Regions from separate parts of the Homo sapiens genome. Here all the other regions are linked to region 4. The links are contacts of gene promoters, found by promoter capture Hi-C in blood cells and fetal thymus (Javierre and others, 2016). All regions are on one chromosome and are shown on one strand. Each heading gives the region's core, a stretch centred on a gene start or on the middle of the fragment in contact. The rest is flanking DNA. Distances are from core to core; before and after follow the strand shown.

What was found. Contacts are between HindIII fragments. The CHiCAGO score rates a contact against its expected background, and 5 or more counts as called.
Region 1: a contact is called between a fragment that was not itself captured here and the fragment with the promoter of GLIPR1L2 in region 4, in 2 of 17 cell types (monocytes and M2 macrophages). The highest score is 6.7, in monocytes.
Region 2: a contact is called between a fragment that was not itself captured here and the fragment with the promoter of GLIPR1L2 in region 4, in 2 of 17 cell types (non-activated CD4 T cells and naive CD8 T cells). The highest score is 8.2, in non-activated CD4 T cells.
Region 3: a contact is called between a fragment that was not itself captured here and the fragment with the promoter of GLIPR1L2 in region 4, in 2 of 17 cell types (naive CD8 T cells and naive B cells). The highest score is 6.1, in naive CD8 T cells.

What each region holds. Positions count from the first base shown.
Region 1 is chr12:76,447,584-76,451,786 of GRCh38, reverse strand. It overlaps OSBPL8 (oxysterol binding protein like 8), which reads left to right. Exons shown (of 24, transcript NM_020841.5): 4 at 799-936. Among named protein-coding and RNA genes, the nearest start is that of BBS10, 100 kb to the right of the region's middle. The HindIII fragment of the contact is 2,413 bases long and covers 873-3,285 here.
Region 2 is chr12:76,766,143-76,770,188 of GRCh38, reverse strand. The region is part of intron 1 of ZDHHC17 (zDHHC palmitoyltransferase 17); the gene reads right to left. Among named protein-coding and RNA genes, the nearest start is that of ZDHHC17, 4.1 kb to the right of the region's middle. The HindIII fragment of the contact is 2,345 bases long and covers 1,139-3,483 here.
Region 3 is chr12:76,583,716-76,587,394 of GRCh38, reverse strand. All of the region lies in intron 3 of LOC105369850 (a long non-coding RNA gene), which reads right to left. Among named protein-coding and RNA genes, the nearest start is that of OSBPL8, 26 kb to the right of the region's middle. RefSeq lists a silencer at 3,190-3,390. The HindIII fragment of the contact is 2,068 bases long and covers 879-2,946 here.
Region 4 is chr12:75,388,575-75,392,800 of GRCh38, reverse strand. It overlaps GLIPR1L2 (GLIPR1 like 2), which reads right to left and starts at 1,712. Exons shown (of 6, transcript NM_001270396.2): 1 at 1,451-1,712. The coding sequence starts at 1,684. It also overlaps a transcript of CAPS2 not described here. RefSeq lists an enhancer at 1,651-1,780 and a silencer at 1,738-1,910. The HindIII fragment of the contact is 6,589 bases long and covers 686-4,226 here.

The DNA.
Region 1 (4,203 bases), core at 830-3,329, 1.1 Mb before region 4:
CCTCAGGTACTTTGGACTTGGCAGTTTGCCCTGTTTCTTCATTGAGTGTTTTCACTTTGTTTCTGCTCTCTGAAACTGGGCATGGCTCGCTATTACTGAGCGATAGATAGTAGGATGGCCAAATGGGTGAGAAGCAACTACAAAGCACTACTTAAATTGTTTATTGGGGCAGCAAGCTTTAAGAGACAGACTTTGGAACCAAATGGTTCTGAGTTAGAATCTTGCCTCTATTACTGTTTAGCCTCAGGCAAGGCAATCTCTGACCCTCAAGTTTCCTCCTCTCTAAAACAGTTATCATACCGACTTTTCGTGAAAATTAGAAATTAGAGTAGAAATTCTAGCGAATGTCAAATATTATTTTATACTGCTAGTAATTTGTAGTTTTTCTGATTACTAATGAGGCTGAGTATCTTTATATGTTTATCGACGATTTGTATTTTTTTTTTTGGGAAATGACTGGCTTTGGCTTATTTTGTTGGTAAATATAAAGAATAAATAGCACAATGAAAGGCACACAGTAAACCTTAGGCCTTTCATTATCAGTTGGATATGTATTTTCATTATTATAATGTCTATAATTTGTATATTTGACTCAAACATACCTGTCAGTTCTTCTTGGATCAGTAACAAACCAACATGAAAACAAGATGACTGTGAGAATTTATTAAAGTATTGAGTTGGTAAAATGAATATAACCACCAAGGCCATTTCAGTTTTGATCTTATTCCATGTTATTAACTATACTATTATGTAAATCTGTGACTTCAGTACTAATTATTTTTCCCTTCTTTCCTTGAGCTGTTGTAGCAAACAGTGACGAATCTCAGCTTCTGACACCAGGAAAGATGAGTCAGCGCCAAGGAAAAGAAGCTTATCCAACGCCAACCAAAGATTTGCATCAGCCATCTCTTAGTCCAGCAAGTCCTCATAGCCAGGGTAGGAAGTTGTGGTTTTCATGTTTTGTCTTGTTTTTGTTTTTGTTTTTGGAGGGGAGAAGGGGAGAATGACATTTGGGGACTATCATATTTTTTTTCTTTTTAACTATTTGGTTTTGTAAGGGGTTTTGTTTGTTTTGTTTAGGTCATCTATAATACTCTTGAAATGAGTACACTTTCCTTTAGACTTTTAATTTTTTTTAATATTCTCCAACATACTTCGTTAGTTATATCATTCATCTAATTTGGCGATTCTCACACTTTGTGGTCTCATGGTTCCTTTGTAGTCTTAAAAATTATTGAAGACTGTGAAGTGCTTTTGTTTATGTGAGTTATATCTATTTTATTATATTATAAATTAAAACTAGAAATTTAAAAATTTAATTCATTTAAAGTAATAAACCCATTACATGTTAATGTAAGTAACATTTTTATTAAGAACTACAGTGTTTTCTTTCCCTCTACTCCCCAAAAAGTTGATTGAGAAGGTTGGTAATGGTTTATCCCAGGACTTCTCAACCTTCGAACTATTTTCAGGACTTCTCAACCTTGGCACTGTTTTGGCCTGGAAAGTTCTTTGTTGTGGAGGGCTGTCCTATGCATTATATGATGTTTAGCAGTATCCCTGGCCTCTACCCAGAAAATGTCAATAGCAGTTACCCCAGTTGTGACAACCAGAAATGTTTCCAGATGTTGCCAAGTATCCCTTGAGGGACAAAACCATCCATGATTAAGAACTGCTTTTTGGCGGTTTTTGCAAATCACTTTAATGTCTAGCTTAAAAGACACCTGCATTTTTGTATCTGCTTCTGCAGTCTGTTGTGATGTGATGATCCGATTGAAGTATATGAATAAAATCTGGTCTCATGCATATATATATATGGGGGGGGTTTATACATAATTATAGATATTCTTTGATAATATGCCAAAACTTGACTAGTAGTAATTTTCTTTATGTTAATTGCAATCTGGAATCTGAAACGCTGTCAGTACACTTTTCATACTCTGTTAAAATTCACTCTTGAATTTTGAATGGCTCTTTACTCATGCATGATTTTGTAACATCATGCATTAGTCATTTGGAAAATATTTGCTCACTGAATTATGCAGATCTTCCAAGTGTTGACACATTAAAAAATATAGTACAGAGAAGGGCTTTATGTATGCTTCTCATTCTGTTGCACAGAATATTAAAATCTTACGTACTAAAGGTTCAAGAGCAATAATTTTTACTTCTTCATCAAGGACATCTGTAAGTGAAACTGTCATTCTTCTGTGAGTGCATGACTGAAGAATTCAGTGCCTACTACTCCAGTTTGGTGCCTCTGCCTTGATTTATGCTAAGTTGCCAGCAGTTTTACCCAAGATTGCTTTTGTGCCATCAATGAAAATGGCAACATAATGAAAAAGTATTATGAAACTAGTTTTCACCTTGCAGATCCTCTAGAAGGGTCTTTGGGTACTCCCAGAAGTTCAGGGATCACAGTTTCTAATTCATAATTGATAAGTTTTGTATAATGGATTCTGCTCCTCAGCTGAAGTTTATTTAATCAAATGTACGGAAATCTCCTGTGGTACTACTCATAGCTGTGGTGGAAGGACTTCTGCTTTTAAAACTGAGAAATGAAATTTGGTGTTTTGAAAGTTAATGTATACTTAGGTTATTGAGTATTTTTAAAAATTAAATTTAGAGTTCTGTCATACTTTGTAATTAGTCAGTTTTGATGTTGTAACTTTATGAATTATCTTTTGAAATTTGGCTTTAGTAACTTTTCAAATGAGTACTACCTTGTAAATAGTAAGTTACATGATCATTTTCTACTTTCTTTCTTTATTTTTTGAGACAGAGTCTTGCTCTGTCGCCAGGCTAGAGTGCAGTGGCGCGATCTCAGCTCACTGCAACCTCCATCTCCCGGGTTCAAGCGATTCTCCTGCCTCAGCCTCCTGAGTAGCTGGAATTACAGGCGCATGCCACCATGCCCAGCTAATTTTTGTGTTTTTAGTAGAGACGGGATTTCACCGTGTTGGCCAGGATGGTCTTGATCTCTTGACCTTGTGATCCGCCCACCTTGGCCTCCCAAAGTGCTGGGATTACAGGCGTGAGCCACCGCACCCATCCTCTACTTTATTTCAATAGAAAATGTTTATCTAGTCATATATTAGATGGAAACACTTTCATATAGCATGGTAGGAACTATAAAAATTTATGTAACAAGATGAAAATAATTACTATAACATATATTGCTTAGTTGTCGATTGTATTTTTGAAAAGTTAGCATTTTTGTTGCCAAAATGCTTTTTGGAAGACCTGAAAAACGATATATGATACACACTCTGGTATAAATAAGCTTCATTAAGATAAAATTCTGAAACAATGCAACTGACCTGGTTTTTTTTTGCACTGTGCATCAGAATTTTGGCTATAATAGATATGGTTTCTCTGATGCATGTATCTGTGCACTAGAATATTTAGAGGAATTCTTTAACTTAGGAGTTAATGAACCAACAAAAGGGTTAGTTACTAATAATTAAAACTACACTTGTTTATATTTATTATGAATGTTTTCAGGCAAACAGGGAAGTTAAAAAAAGAGTACAGTGAACACTAATATACCCATTGTATAGATGTAAGGAGTTATTAACCTTTTGTTTTGTTTGTTTCATTTATTTAGGGTACAGCGTGAATATTTAGAGTAAATTACAGACTTCATGACGTACCCCAAAATACTTAATGTGTCTCTAAAAAATGAGCACATTTTCTTATGTAACCATAAAACCTTTATTACATCTAACAAAACTGATGATAATTGCTTAACATAACCTAACACCTAGTCTATATTTAAATTTTGCCTAGTTTTCCCCAAATCTTTCTACAGTAGGCTTGCTGAAACCAAATAAAGTCCATACATCTTATTTGGTTATGTCATTACGTCCTTAATCCTAAAGAGTCTCCTTGTTTACTTTTGTTTTCTTTTGTGTCTTTGACGGTTTTAAGAAACTTGGCTGACCGGGTGCAGTGGCTCATGCCTGTAATCCCAGCACTTTGGGAGGCCAAGGCGGGTGGATTACCTGAGGTCAGGAGTTCGAGACCAGCCTGGCCAACATGGTGAAACCCCATCTCTACTTAAAAATACAAAAAAATTAGCCAGGCTTGGTGGCGGGCACCTGTAATCCTAGCTATTTGAGAGGCTGAGGCAGGGGAATCACTTGAACCTGGGAGGCAGAGGTTGCAGTGAGCCGAGATCGCGCCATTGCACTCCAGCCTGGG
Region 2 (4,046 bases), core at 1,062-3,561, 1.4 Mb before region 4:
TGTTTACTAAGTGCCAGACACAGAACTTCACATGTATTATCTCACTTAATCCTCACAACAGCCTCATAAAGTAGGTGTTATTATACCCCCATTTTAGTTTGGAAAATTGGGATGCAGAGTTCAATAACGTGCCCAGGATTGCAAGCTAGTGAGCAGAATTGAGATTTGAATCCTAACACCATTGCTCACTTTTAACCTATATACTCTTATATCCACCAACTCCACAGTCCACTCTTAATAAATACTTTTGAGATCCTCCCAAATTAAATAAAAATAATGAACAAAATAAAACAAGCCGAATCAGGAAAATGACATTTCTCAAAACCAGAACAATTTTTTGGTCAGTAATTTTCAACTCTGGCTTTGAGCACAATCCATGAAGTCTCACCAATTAATCACATTTTAATTTTATATCTATTGACTCAGTGATTACTAAGCTTAATAGTAATGCTCAGTGGTTACTGGGCTTAACAGTGGTCACTATACTAAGCATAGTAGTTACTAAGCTTAATATATAGTATTTTAAAATATACATTATTTTAAAATCTAGATTATTATTATATGACCTATAACATTTTTGCTGAATTTTTTAAAAGGCATCAAATCCTAGTGACTGCATAAAGAAGTGCTTTGAAGGAAAAGAGTTGCAGGTAACCTATGGGAAGAAAAACAACTTTCAAAGTCATTTTGTATCTGCTTTCTGAAAGCAAATGAATTACCTTATATGTGTACAAATACATATATATACACACACACATATAATATATACATAATAGGGCAAAAAGTAATAGAAAATGGCAAAATTCTTTTCACTAAAGAACAGCTTCATGGCCGAGCATGGTGGCTCATGCCTGTAACCCCAGCAGTTTGGGAGGCCGAGGCGGGTGGATCACCTGAGGTCAGGCGTTCCAGACCAGCCTGGCCAACATGGTGAAACCCCATCTCTACTAGAAATACAAAAAATTAGCCACGTGTGGTGGCAGGCACCTGTAATCCCAGCTACTCGGGAGGCTGATGCAGGAGAATCGCTTGAACGCAGGAGGCTGAGGTTGCAGTAAGCCGAGATCACGTCATTGCACTTCAGCCTGGGCAACAAGAGCGCAACTCCATCTCAAACTAAAGCAAAAAACCAAAAGCTTCAAAAAGTAGATTTTATGAAATCTGTGAGGACAGTAGATAATAGCAATAGTTTGATTTAATATTCAAACAGAAATCATCAGAAATAATAAAATGAATGTGAAATAAAAAACGTTACCATAAAAAGAGAGACGAAAATGAGAAAAAAAGGCAATAGCAGAAGTTTTGAAATAGAGAAAAAAGGAAGAAAGAAAGAGATGAAAGCCCTAGATAATCTAGGCAATCCAGTTCAAAGCTCTGAGTCAGATGGTTCTGAAATAGCCCCTGTGATACTGTGGCAGAAGGGGATATTGTGATCTCATTCTATCAAAGAGCTGAGATGACTTACTGAGGATGTACTAGTAGGTAAAATGGAAGCTGGTCATGGCTAGTCTGCTGGACCAGTAGACCAACATATGGTCTCTGTCCCTCTACGGAAGCCTTTCTTCTAACCACTCTAAATGACAGGAATCTGACACCACTTACAAGCTACATTACTTAATTCAGTACTTATTTGAATCGTCCAGTGTTTCACGTGCCTACAACTTCCCAACTAGTTATTTACCTTCTGGAAAACATATGCTATCTTTTTTATGTTATTTTAACCCATATAACCTAACACAATGCTACGTACCTAGTAGACAGATGCTCAAGTTGATTATATTGAAAAATCACAATTTAAAACCAGAACACTTGAGTCTGAAGAAATCTTAGAGGTCATCTAGTCTAGCTACTTTATCTTAAAAGCAACAAAACTGAGACCAGTTAAATACCTACTAGCTCAAGGTCACTGAGCTAGAACTAGTACCCTAATCCCTTGATCATCAGTTCTTCTTTATCCAAAGAGCCTTTAATTTCTTTCATTTCAATAAAACAAATAATCACCTATTTCAAAAGAAAACAAAGTAACAGCAGCTTCCCTTTCAGTATTCACTATATGCCAGGGCCTTCAGAAGGTACAATTTGCTTGGCAGCCTATGTGCCTAGGTCTATGAAAACTGCTTTATAAACATTAGCCTAGTTAATATTCACAATAACTGTAAAAGGTGTCACTATTAACCCAACTTTACAAATGAGAAAAATGTACTTTGACCATGATAACAGTAAGCTGCAGAAGCTACATTTTCAGTTTGTCACCACAGCTTTGGATTTTTTTTTTTTTTAAGAGAGTTTTGCTCTTGTTGCCCAGGCTGGAGTGCAATCTCGGCTCACTGCAACCTCCACCTCCCGGGTTCAAGCAATTCTCCTGCCTCAGCCTCCTGAGGAGCTGGGATTATAGGCATGTGCCACCACGCATGGCTAATTTTGTATTTTTAATAGAGACAAGGTTTCTCCATGTTGGTCAGGTTGGTCTTGAACTCCGAACCTCAGGTGATCCGCCCGCCTCGGCCTCCCTAAACCCTGGGATTACAGGCGTGAGCCACCACGCCCAGCCAACTTTGGCTCTTAACCAGTATTCTACACTGCCTCTCACTGAACACCAAAAATATCCTGAAGTCTCACACAGACTCCAGCACAATTCCTTACCCAAACATGACAAACAAATGTTTAAATGACCAACTAAATGAGTGGATGATTTAATTCATTAAAAAGTAAGATTATCTTACCTAAAATACCTCTAAAAAGGCGTTTATCTAATTGTATAATCCTCTAAGAAAGGTTTTAACAGTGGGCAGTTTGCATACTAATAAGAGATTTAAGCAATGCTCATTTCTTTACCCACAAATAATTCATCTGCTTAACAAATACTAAAGTGAAAAACTGTTTTTGTGTGAGAGTATTAAATTGGAAGATAAAAAGTGAAATGAAATTTGTTCCTGCAAGATCCTATTCCACTAAATTAAAACCCACATAAGTTTTAAATCAGTCACCAAAACCAAAATAAATGTGTAACACTTCCCTTTCTTCTGGTAGAGAAAAAAGAAGTAACATTAACTGAGCACCTACAATGTGCCAGTTCTTGACCCTCAACATATAGCCTCACTTAATCCCTTACAGCCAAGTAAACTAGGCAGCATCTCCATTTTCTTTTCTTTTCTTTTTTTTTTTTTTTTGAGACATAATCTTGCTCTGTCACCCAGGATGGAGTACAGCTGCTCGATCATGGCTCACTGCAGCCTCAACCTTCCAGGCTCAAGCAATCCTCCCACCTCAGCATCCGATTAGCTGGGACTACAGGCGTGTACCACCATGCTCAGCTAATTTTTGTATTTTCTGTAGACACAGAGTTTTGCCATGTTGCCCAGGATGGTCTCGAACTCCTGGGCTCAAGTGATTCTCTCACCTCGGCTTCCCAAAGTGCTGGGACTACAGGTGTGAGCCTCCGAGCCCAGCCAGGATCTCCATTTTCTGATTACAACTGAAGCTTAAAGAAATTAAGCACTTGTCTCAGGTCACTTAGCTAGTTACCGAATTTCCAGAATTAGAATCCAAGTCTGTCTGACCCAAAGTCTATGTTCTCTCCAAAAAGAGGTTAAAAGTACTATTATTTCATTACTTACCAAGACAGAGAATGGGTTTCTTCCCAAAGGAGACTGAAAACACTGCTTATTTTAACAACAAAAACATATTATCTCAGTTAATCCTCGCTATAGCTTATTAACTATTATTTTTATCCATTATAAATGATGAAACTAGAACTCAGAGACGTATTCATAGCTTGCCCAAGAACACACTGCTAGGAGGCAGCAGAACTACCCCAGGTCTGCACCAGCTGCACACACTAACCACAGAAAATGCAGAAAGACCTCAGCCATGTAGTACAAGCTTAAGGTCCATCCAAAGTATTAAAATAATCAGACCTTGTGCTTCTTGGGTAAAAAGGAACGGTATATATTATGTATGCCAATTCCCACTATCAATGATGAGGAGGTTGACTTTCTAGTAATATCCTATCTATCGAATGGCAACCTGAAGATCGGTAGCTAAAT
Region 3 (3,679 bases), core at 663-3,162, 1.2 Mb before region 4:
GGTACTAGGCTTAGTACCAGGGTAACGAAATAATCTGTAAAACAAACCCCCATGACATGAGTTTACCTATATAACAAACGTGCACATGTACTCCTCAACCTAAAACAAAAGTTAAAGAAGAAAGGGAGCCTGTGAAGCCCCTCAGTCACTCCTCCTACATCTCATCCTGTTCTCCCACTGATCTAGCTTAAAGTCTTCCTGCTGGAACATTTCACCCTATACCAGGTGGTGGGGAAAAAAATTTTTTTTATTAACTTACGTATCTCAATTGAGCATTGGAAGTCTATTGTGAATTCATCTGATGAAAAAGTTGAATGCATCTCTTCAGAAGTTTATCATTATCATCTGCAATCTACTGAGAACTTTTTAAAAAATGAATCCTGCAATTGTATGGCCAGCAGGGGGCAACTAAATACTTCCCAAAACAGCATCTTGTATAAGAGAACAAGTTAAAATTGGAGACTGTTAGCATTCTTAGCTGTGTAGGAGAGCTGACTTCCTTCTAAAATGATAATTAACACCTAGACACATTCTCACAATACTGAATTTGTGAAGATAATTGGAACAGTTTCCTAAGTGGACAGATTATAAAACCACATTCTGGGGCCTGTATGTGGCAGATTTGTTTTGGCTGTTTTTTCAGTCCACAAGGTTCCTTGCAAAAATTTATGTATTTTATGATGAATAGCTTTGTAAAACTTCTTGTATTATAGAAAATATAATGAATCTTGACTTATTTCTGTAGGTTATTTTAGAATTCTGCTATTTTTACTTAACATTCAAAGATAAAAGTAAATAGGGATTGCAGAGGATCTTGTTCTTAAAGTATAATAAAGAATCATTTCTTAGCCCTGTTTTATAGAACTAATTTTTAAGCTTGTTATATTAGTTAGGGTTGTCCAGAGAAACCAAACCAACAGAATGTGTATACATATAGATATTATAGATATAGATGTTTATTTTAAGGAATTGGCACACATGATTGTGGGGACTCAGTTTCTGCTTGAGTCCAAAGGCAACCTGCTGGCAGAATTCCTTCCTTCTCTGGGGAGGTCAGTCTTTGATTTATGAAGGCCTTCAACCGATTGATGAGGCCCGTCCATATTATGGAAAGTAATCTGCTTTACTTAAAATCCACTGGTTAAAATGTTAATCTCATCCAAAAACACCTTCACCAAAACATCCAGAATAACGTTTAACCAAATATCTGGGTACCACAGCCCAGCCAAGTTGTCAAATAAAATAACCATCACAGTTGCCTATTTCTTTACATCACAGTCTCAAAGTCGTAGGAGATCTATATGGTGAAATAGCTCAACCCTCCTCCAGATGCAGCTGCAATGCCTGGCAAAGAGAAAGCATTTAGCAAATATATGCTGATTTGAATTGAACTGAATGTATATGAATTGAATTAAATATCCCTAGTGGTGGCTAGGTTCTGCCAGGCTTCCAGTGCGGTGCTGGGAGGTAATGGAAGATAGAAGTTAGGCACAGGCTCTGGAGTCAGATAGGTCCATATGCTGAGGCTCCCCTACTTACCTTATATGTACCTTTGGATGAATAACTTAATTTTTCTAAGCCTACATTTCTTCACCTATATAAAAACAACAGTCATAATAGCTATTTATGCTACATATTGCTTTGTTAATCAATATTTACTTCTCTTTCCTTTCTGGCCACTCAGTGGATTGACTGTATTCCTCAGCGACCCTACAACTGAATGGAGCCATGTGACTTGGTCTGGCCAGTGAAAACTGTAGATTTTACGTGTGTCACCTTCAGGATGTGGCAGTAAAAGGTCGATATGAAATTTTTTTCTTTCCCGACTGTGGCAACCATGGAAAAAGATTCATCTTAAGATGGCAGCACCACAAGGTTGAAGCTGCCTGGATTATCACGTTGTTGCATGGAAGACAGTTGCCTGGAGAGTTGCCTGCAGCCAGAGCTAACTTTTTGTTAAACATTTGCTTTTTCTCCCAACTGCAGCACAACCTAGACTATTCTCATGTATTGTCTCACAGAGTTGTTTTGAGGATTCAATCAGATATTGTTTCGCAGGAAACTGCTCATTTGACAAGCCATAAGCACTCAAATGTTATAATTATGATATTTCTTTGCCTTGATCATTATAGCAATTCAAAACTCAAACAATAAAATTAGAGTACCAGGTAACTTTTGTTTAAAGTATTAGTATTCTAACTCTTTAAACTTCTCCTCTGAACACTGCCTTGCACACAGTAGGCATTCATAAATAAACAAAAAAAATTTTTTTTTTTTGAGACAGGGTCTCACTCTGTCACCCAGGCTTTAACATGGTGCTACAACCAAGGCTCACTTTAGCCTTGACCTCCTGGGCTCAAGCAATCCTCCTGTGTCGGACTCCCAAGATACTGGGATTACAGACATAAGCTGCCACACTTGGCTGCTGGGATATTTTATTCCCTTATTGTTAGACTGGCAAGATTTAAGTTTATTTCTTTTGCTAGACCTAGGTTCTCATAAAACAACTACTTTTGGTTAGAGTTACCTATTAAAAAATGTATTACTATCCTGTCATTAATGGGGCTTAGGCAGTGATAGCTGCTCACACATCTTAACTCTTCCCTGAATTCAGACCCAATTGATAGGAAGCCAAAAAGATAAAATACCAACTTCTCGGCTTGGCATGGTGGCTCATGACTATAAGCCCAGCACTTCAGAAGGCCGAGGTGGGAGAGTTGCTTGAGTCCAGGAGTTCAAGATCAGCCTAGCATAGGGAGACTCCATCTCTACAAAATGTTTGAAAAATTAGCCAGGCATGTGGCATATGTCTGTAGTCCCAGCTACTTGGGAGACTGAGGTAGGAGGATCGCTTGAGCCAAGGAGGTAGAGGCTGCAGTGAGCAGTGATATTATGCCATTGCACTCCAGCCTGGGTGACAGAGTGAGACTTCATTTCAAAAAAGCTTCCTAAGATAAAGCTGATTGGATGTATTATAATATACAACCATGACCAGGTTTTTCAATATTTCTTTTTTTTTTTTTTAGACGGAGTCTCACTCTGTCACCCAGGCTGGAGTGCAGTGGCGTGATCTCAGCTCACTGCAACCTCTGCCTCCTGGGTTCAAGCAATTCTCCTGCCTCAGCCTCCCGAGTAGCTGGGATTACAGGCACCTGCCACCATGCCCAGCTAATTTTTGTATTTTTGGTAGAGACGGGGTTTCACCATGTTGGCCAAGCTGGTCAAATACTTCCTAAGTCCAAATGGGTGATGACTCGCCACAGGAGAATTTGAGTCTGCACGATGGATAGACTTGTGTAGAATCACTGTTTCTGCTTGGTGAGATCAACAGTAGAAAGAATGAGAGTTAGGCCTCAGGCCTGTTCTAGAAGACAAGCATAGGCCCTAATCCGTGTGTTTTTAGTTTATGACATATATTGAGGAACTGAGCAGAATATAATTTCTTGTGGGTGGGAAGATTTGAAAAAGATGGCAAGAAATGGCTTGGGTTTTATGTTTTTCTCCCCAAATCACCAATTAAATACAAAACTCCTTCCACTTGGGGAAAGTGGCAGAAAGAAAGATGAAATTTCCTCTTGACTCTATAGTTCTGAAAGAAACATATTTCTATTTTAAGAGCCAGGTAGGAAAACTGTGAGGCAGAGAAGATGGTTCCTTTTAATATAAACAAATAAATTAT
Region 4 (4,226 bases), core at 463-2,962:
ATATCGATTGTGGGTATACAGGTATATTATTTTATATACCTTATGTTTGAAATACTATATAATTTTTAGAGATGAGATAGAAAACCTATGAAAAGTTGTATTAGAAAGTATTATGTGTTTATTAATTTTCAGGAGTAAGGATAATCTTCAAATTGGGAAGAAACAGAATTAGTCACAAAAAATGGGAAATTAGTTGAAACTCCCAAATATCCCCAAACTCTATAATTGAATTCAAAAGAAAAAGAATTGGCTTAGAAAAAAGTATCTTCAGCAGATAGAACCAAATGCTAGCATAGTTCTATAAGACAGCATATAATCTGACATGGAAATGCTGACAATATAAAAGGTAAAGGAAATGACGAAGAAAGAACTCAAGTATGTCCTATCAAAATAGTATTTTAAAATCAACATTAAAACAAATGACCATTTTTGTAATTTATTCATTTAGCAAGTAATTGAACATGTCCAAATCAGTGAGGATGTGGTGAAAACAGAACAGCTGGTATTTGCTAAATTTGGCACTACCCTTTAGCATAGCAATTGCTATGTGTTAAATTAATAAAAAATATCATACCCTTAATTTATTTATCCCATTTCTGAAATTTGTGCTAAGAACTAATGCTGAAGGAAGAAAAGACATGTCTAGGAAAGTAGTCCTTGCAATATAATTTATAAGTTTGAAGCTTCTAATTCCCTAAGAGGACAGTTATTTATTTGCCGGATTTTCAGTCATTTTAATGACAGTCAGGAAAACTCAATAGCAACCAGGGAATAGTTGAGTTGTTAAATGACTATAGGGTGTAAAAGAGGGGGAAAGCAAGAACCGCATTGTAAGGTAAGGCAAAATCAGGGTCAAGACTAGGGTGAGGAAACTGAGACACTTCCTTAGGAGCCAAATTTGGAATGGGCACAAAAAAAAAAAATCAAGATAACAAACATTTTTAAAAGGCAAAGCTAATGTGACATCGATGATGGAAAAAGCTAAAAATAAAAATTTCAAATACAAACAGAATCTCATCTTGATTTGCACCACCCTGAGAGTGTCGCACTTGTTTTTCCCTAATCCAGACCCAAGGAACCTGTCTTTGTTAAATTTTTTAACATTTTCTTTACCCTTGATATTGATATTTTTGCACTGATTTTTAATTTTTAAAAACCCGTTGCATTAAAATATCATTTTCTTGAATTGGCGCCCCCTTAAAATCTGCACTTCAGGCCAGTGCCTCCATCACCTTAGTCCTGGCCCTGTGTAATATCATGGTAATAAGCATGTGTTAGAGTGTCCGCAGTTTTTCTCTGTGTAAACTTCACGTGTACTTTAAAAACCAAGCTAAAAGTGCGGTTCTCCGCGATCCTTCAGCCTCAGAGCAGTGGCCCCAACTACCCGAGATCCAGGGAGGCGTTGTGGCAACGGTAGTGGAAGGGTCGGCAAACCGCCTTCCGGCCTCACCATGAAGCGCAAGTTAGACCCTCGGGGAATGACGTCGCCCCGCAGCTCATTGTGGAGGTTCACGTACTCGTTGATAAAGTCTACGTCCTCCTCGTCTGGCAAAAATCTGGCGTTCAAACTAGAACCCAGTAGCAGTAGCCACAGCTCACAGAGCCGCAGCTTCAAAACGCCCCCTACTGCCAGGGGTAGGGACTGGGCCCTCCACTCCCGGGCGAAGGGCCTTGCGGCCTCCATGGTCCACCGGCCGCTGACAGGCCAGTGCGCACGCGCTGGCCGTCCCAGTGACCTGCCAATCTACGGAGGACGCAAGCAAGCCTTGTCCCGCCTCCCGGAAGGAGAAAGGGAGGAGGGAGGAGGGAAAAACAAAGGAGGGAGGAGGGGGTAAGGAGGAGGGAGGAGAGAAGAGGGAGGGGAGAGTGGGTAGGGGAGGGGGAGAGGAGGGGAAAGCTAGACCTGCAGAGTGAAGAAAGCTGGTAATAGATGTCTGACAAACTAAAGAAAGACTTGTGTTACGTGAGTAAGCCCTTTTCACTAAACTAATGTAGTGAAATGTTATCCCGAATTGATTTCTGACACTGAATGATATGTCGTTATTAATGAGTCATCAGTTTGTATGGTAAATGCCAATTGCTGAGTAACAGGTCTGAGGAACCTTCTAATTGTGCCAGGTGAAATGATTTTTCTGCGATACAGATACAAATTCAATTAAATTTTTTTTCCCCATTACCTGTTGAGTTGGAAATTTGGTGCAGGGCCTGCCTTTTATTTTCCTCAGGGACAGAATGGAATACAGAAATATTGCTAGTTCTTAAGGCCAAAGAAGTTCTTAAGGCCAACTTAATTGATGAGATTTTTTTCAGTTTTTAAATGAACCTTTGTGGGAAACCACAAAATAAATGGGAGTGAAGGGAGAGTAGGGATCACCAAACTCTTCAAAGGTTAAAACATTTCTACTTCTTCTCTCATCAGCACAATTCAGACAGCCCGGAATATCAAGATTCATCTTTTTCACTAATTGTGGCATTCACAGTAAGAACGAACTCTTTTGTTTTCTTTTTTTGTTCCAGACAAAATTGGCTAATATCTAGCTGATTTTGGTCTGATCTGTTTACCTCCAAACATTTTCCTCAAAAACAAAACAAAACAAAACCAACTTGCTTTGAAGACTTTAAATTCTAAGCATGGAAAAAAAGCAAGTATTAGTTTTGGAATACACGTTTGCATATTACATATTGTGCTTAATAGCATTAAGCAGATATGGAAAATTGACATTGGGAGAGAATTTTACTACAAAACATTGTAACAGGTTAGCCAAACATTTATAAAAAGAAAAGTGCTTTTAAAAATTGTCTGTGATGCACACAATTGAAAAACAATAGACCTATGTAAGATGGTTTCATTTATGCCCTTGAATACTTACTACTATGACTGCATAGTAGTAAGTTTTAAGTGATTGAGAAAGATCAGTAGACAAGACACAGATCCAGCTTTCAAGCAGCTTACAATTTAGTGAATTAGCAATCAGGCAGTATTTAAAACGTGATAAATACAAAGCCAAAATTCTATTGCTTGGTACTCTTGTGGAGGAGCAGGGAAGCCTTTCTGGAAATTGTATACAGAAAGTGAAACAGACAAGTCTAAGATAGCATTCTAAACAAAGGGAAAAGCATGTAATGTGCCTAAGGAGAGGAAGATCCTAAACGCTAGAAGTATTTTAGTATGGCTAGAACCTATTTAAGGGTGAAGGTGGCAAGTGCTGAAAGATGCAATTCTTTTATTATGGTGGTACTGTTGTTAGACTGCAAAAAATGCTAAAGAAAAAGTATAAATAGAATAATGCAATCTTAGATTTGGAAGAAATTTTAGCCACTATTGCTAGCCTCCTGTGTTAGGTATACTCTCCGGAACATCACTGACAGGTGATCATCACATCCTTTTCTTAAATAATTAGACCAACAGGGAAGCCCATTCCACTGCTAGACATCTCATTCAATAAATATTTCCTTGGTACTTCCTGTGTGTCACAGCCCAGCTAAAGGCTCAAATGCTGAACAAGCTAGACATGGAGTCTATCCACAGGGAGCTTTTAATTAAAGGTGACACAGATGAATCATCAAACAGTTACAATACAGAGTGGTGAATACTATTTTTAATCTATTTCACAAATATTTAATGTGTCAGGCACTATTTAAAATGCTTGGACAATATCAACTCACTCAAGTCACACAAATCTTAAGAAATAGTTATTATCCCTTTAACAGATGGAAAAACAACTGAGAAAAAGAGAAATCAAATTGCCTGAGGCCACCCAGCCAGGGAGTGGTAGAGCTACTTCTGTGTTTTTTTTGTTTTGTTTTGTTTTTTTTACCAATTCCTTTTCTAAAAATAGACTCTTTTTTAATAGCAGTTTTAGGTTCACAACAAAACTGAGAGGAAGGTACAGAGATTTCTCATGTAACTCCTGTCCCCACACATACATAAACTCCCTCATTATCAACATCCCACAACAGAGTAGTACATTTACAACTGATGAACCTACATTTATCCATTATTCCCACCCAGAGTTCATAGTGTATATTAGGGCTCATTCTTGGTGTTGCACATTTCATGGGTTGGTATAAATGTATAATGACATGTTTCCAGCATTTAGTACCATATAGAGTCGTTTTGCTGCCTAAAAATCCCTGGTGCTCAGACTATTCATCTCTCCCTGCCTCCTAACCCCGGCAACTACTAATTTTTTTTTACTGTCTTCATAGTTTTGCTTTTTCCAGAA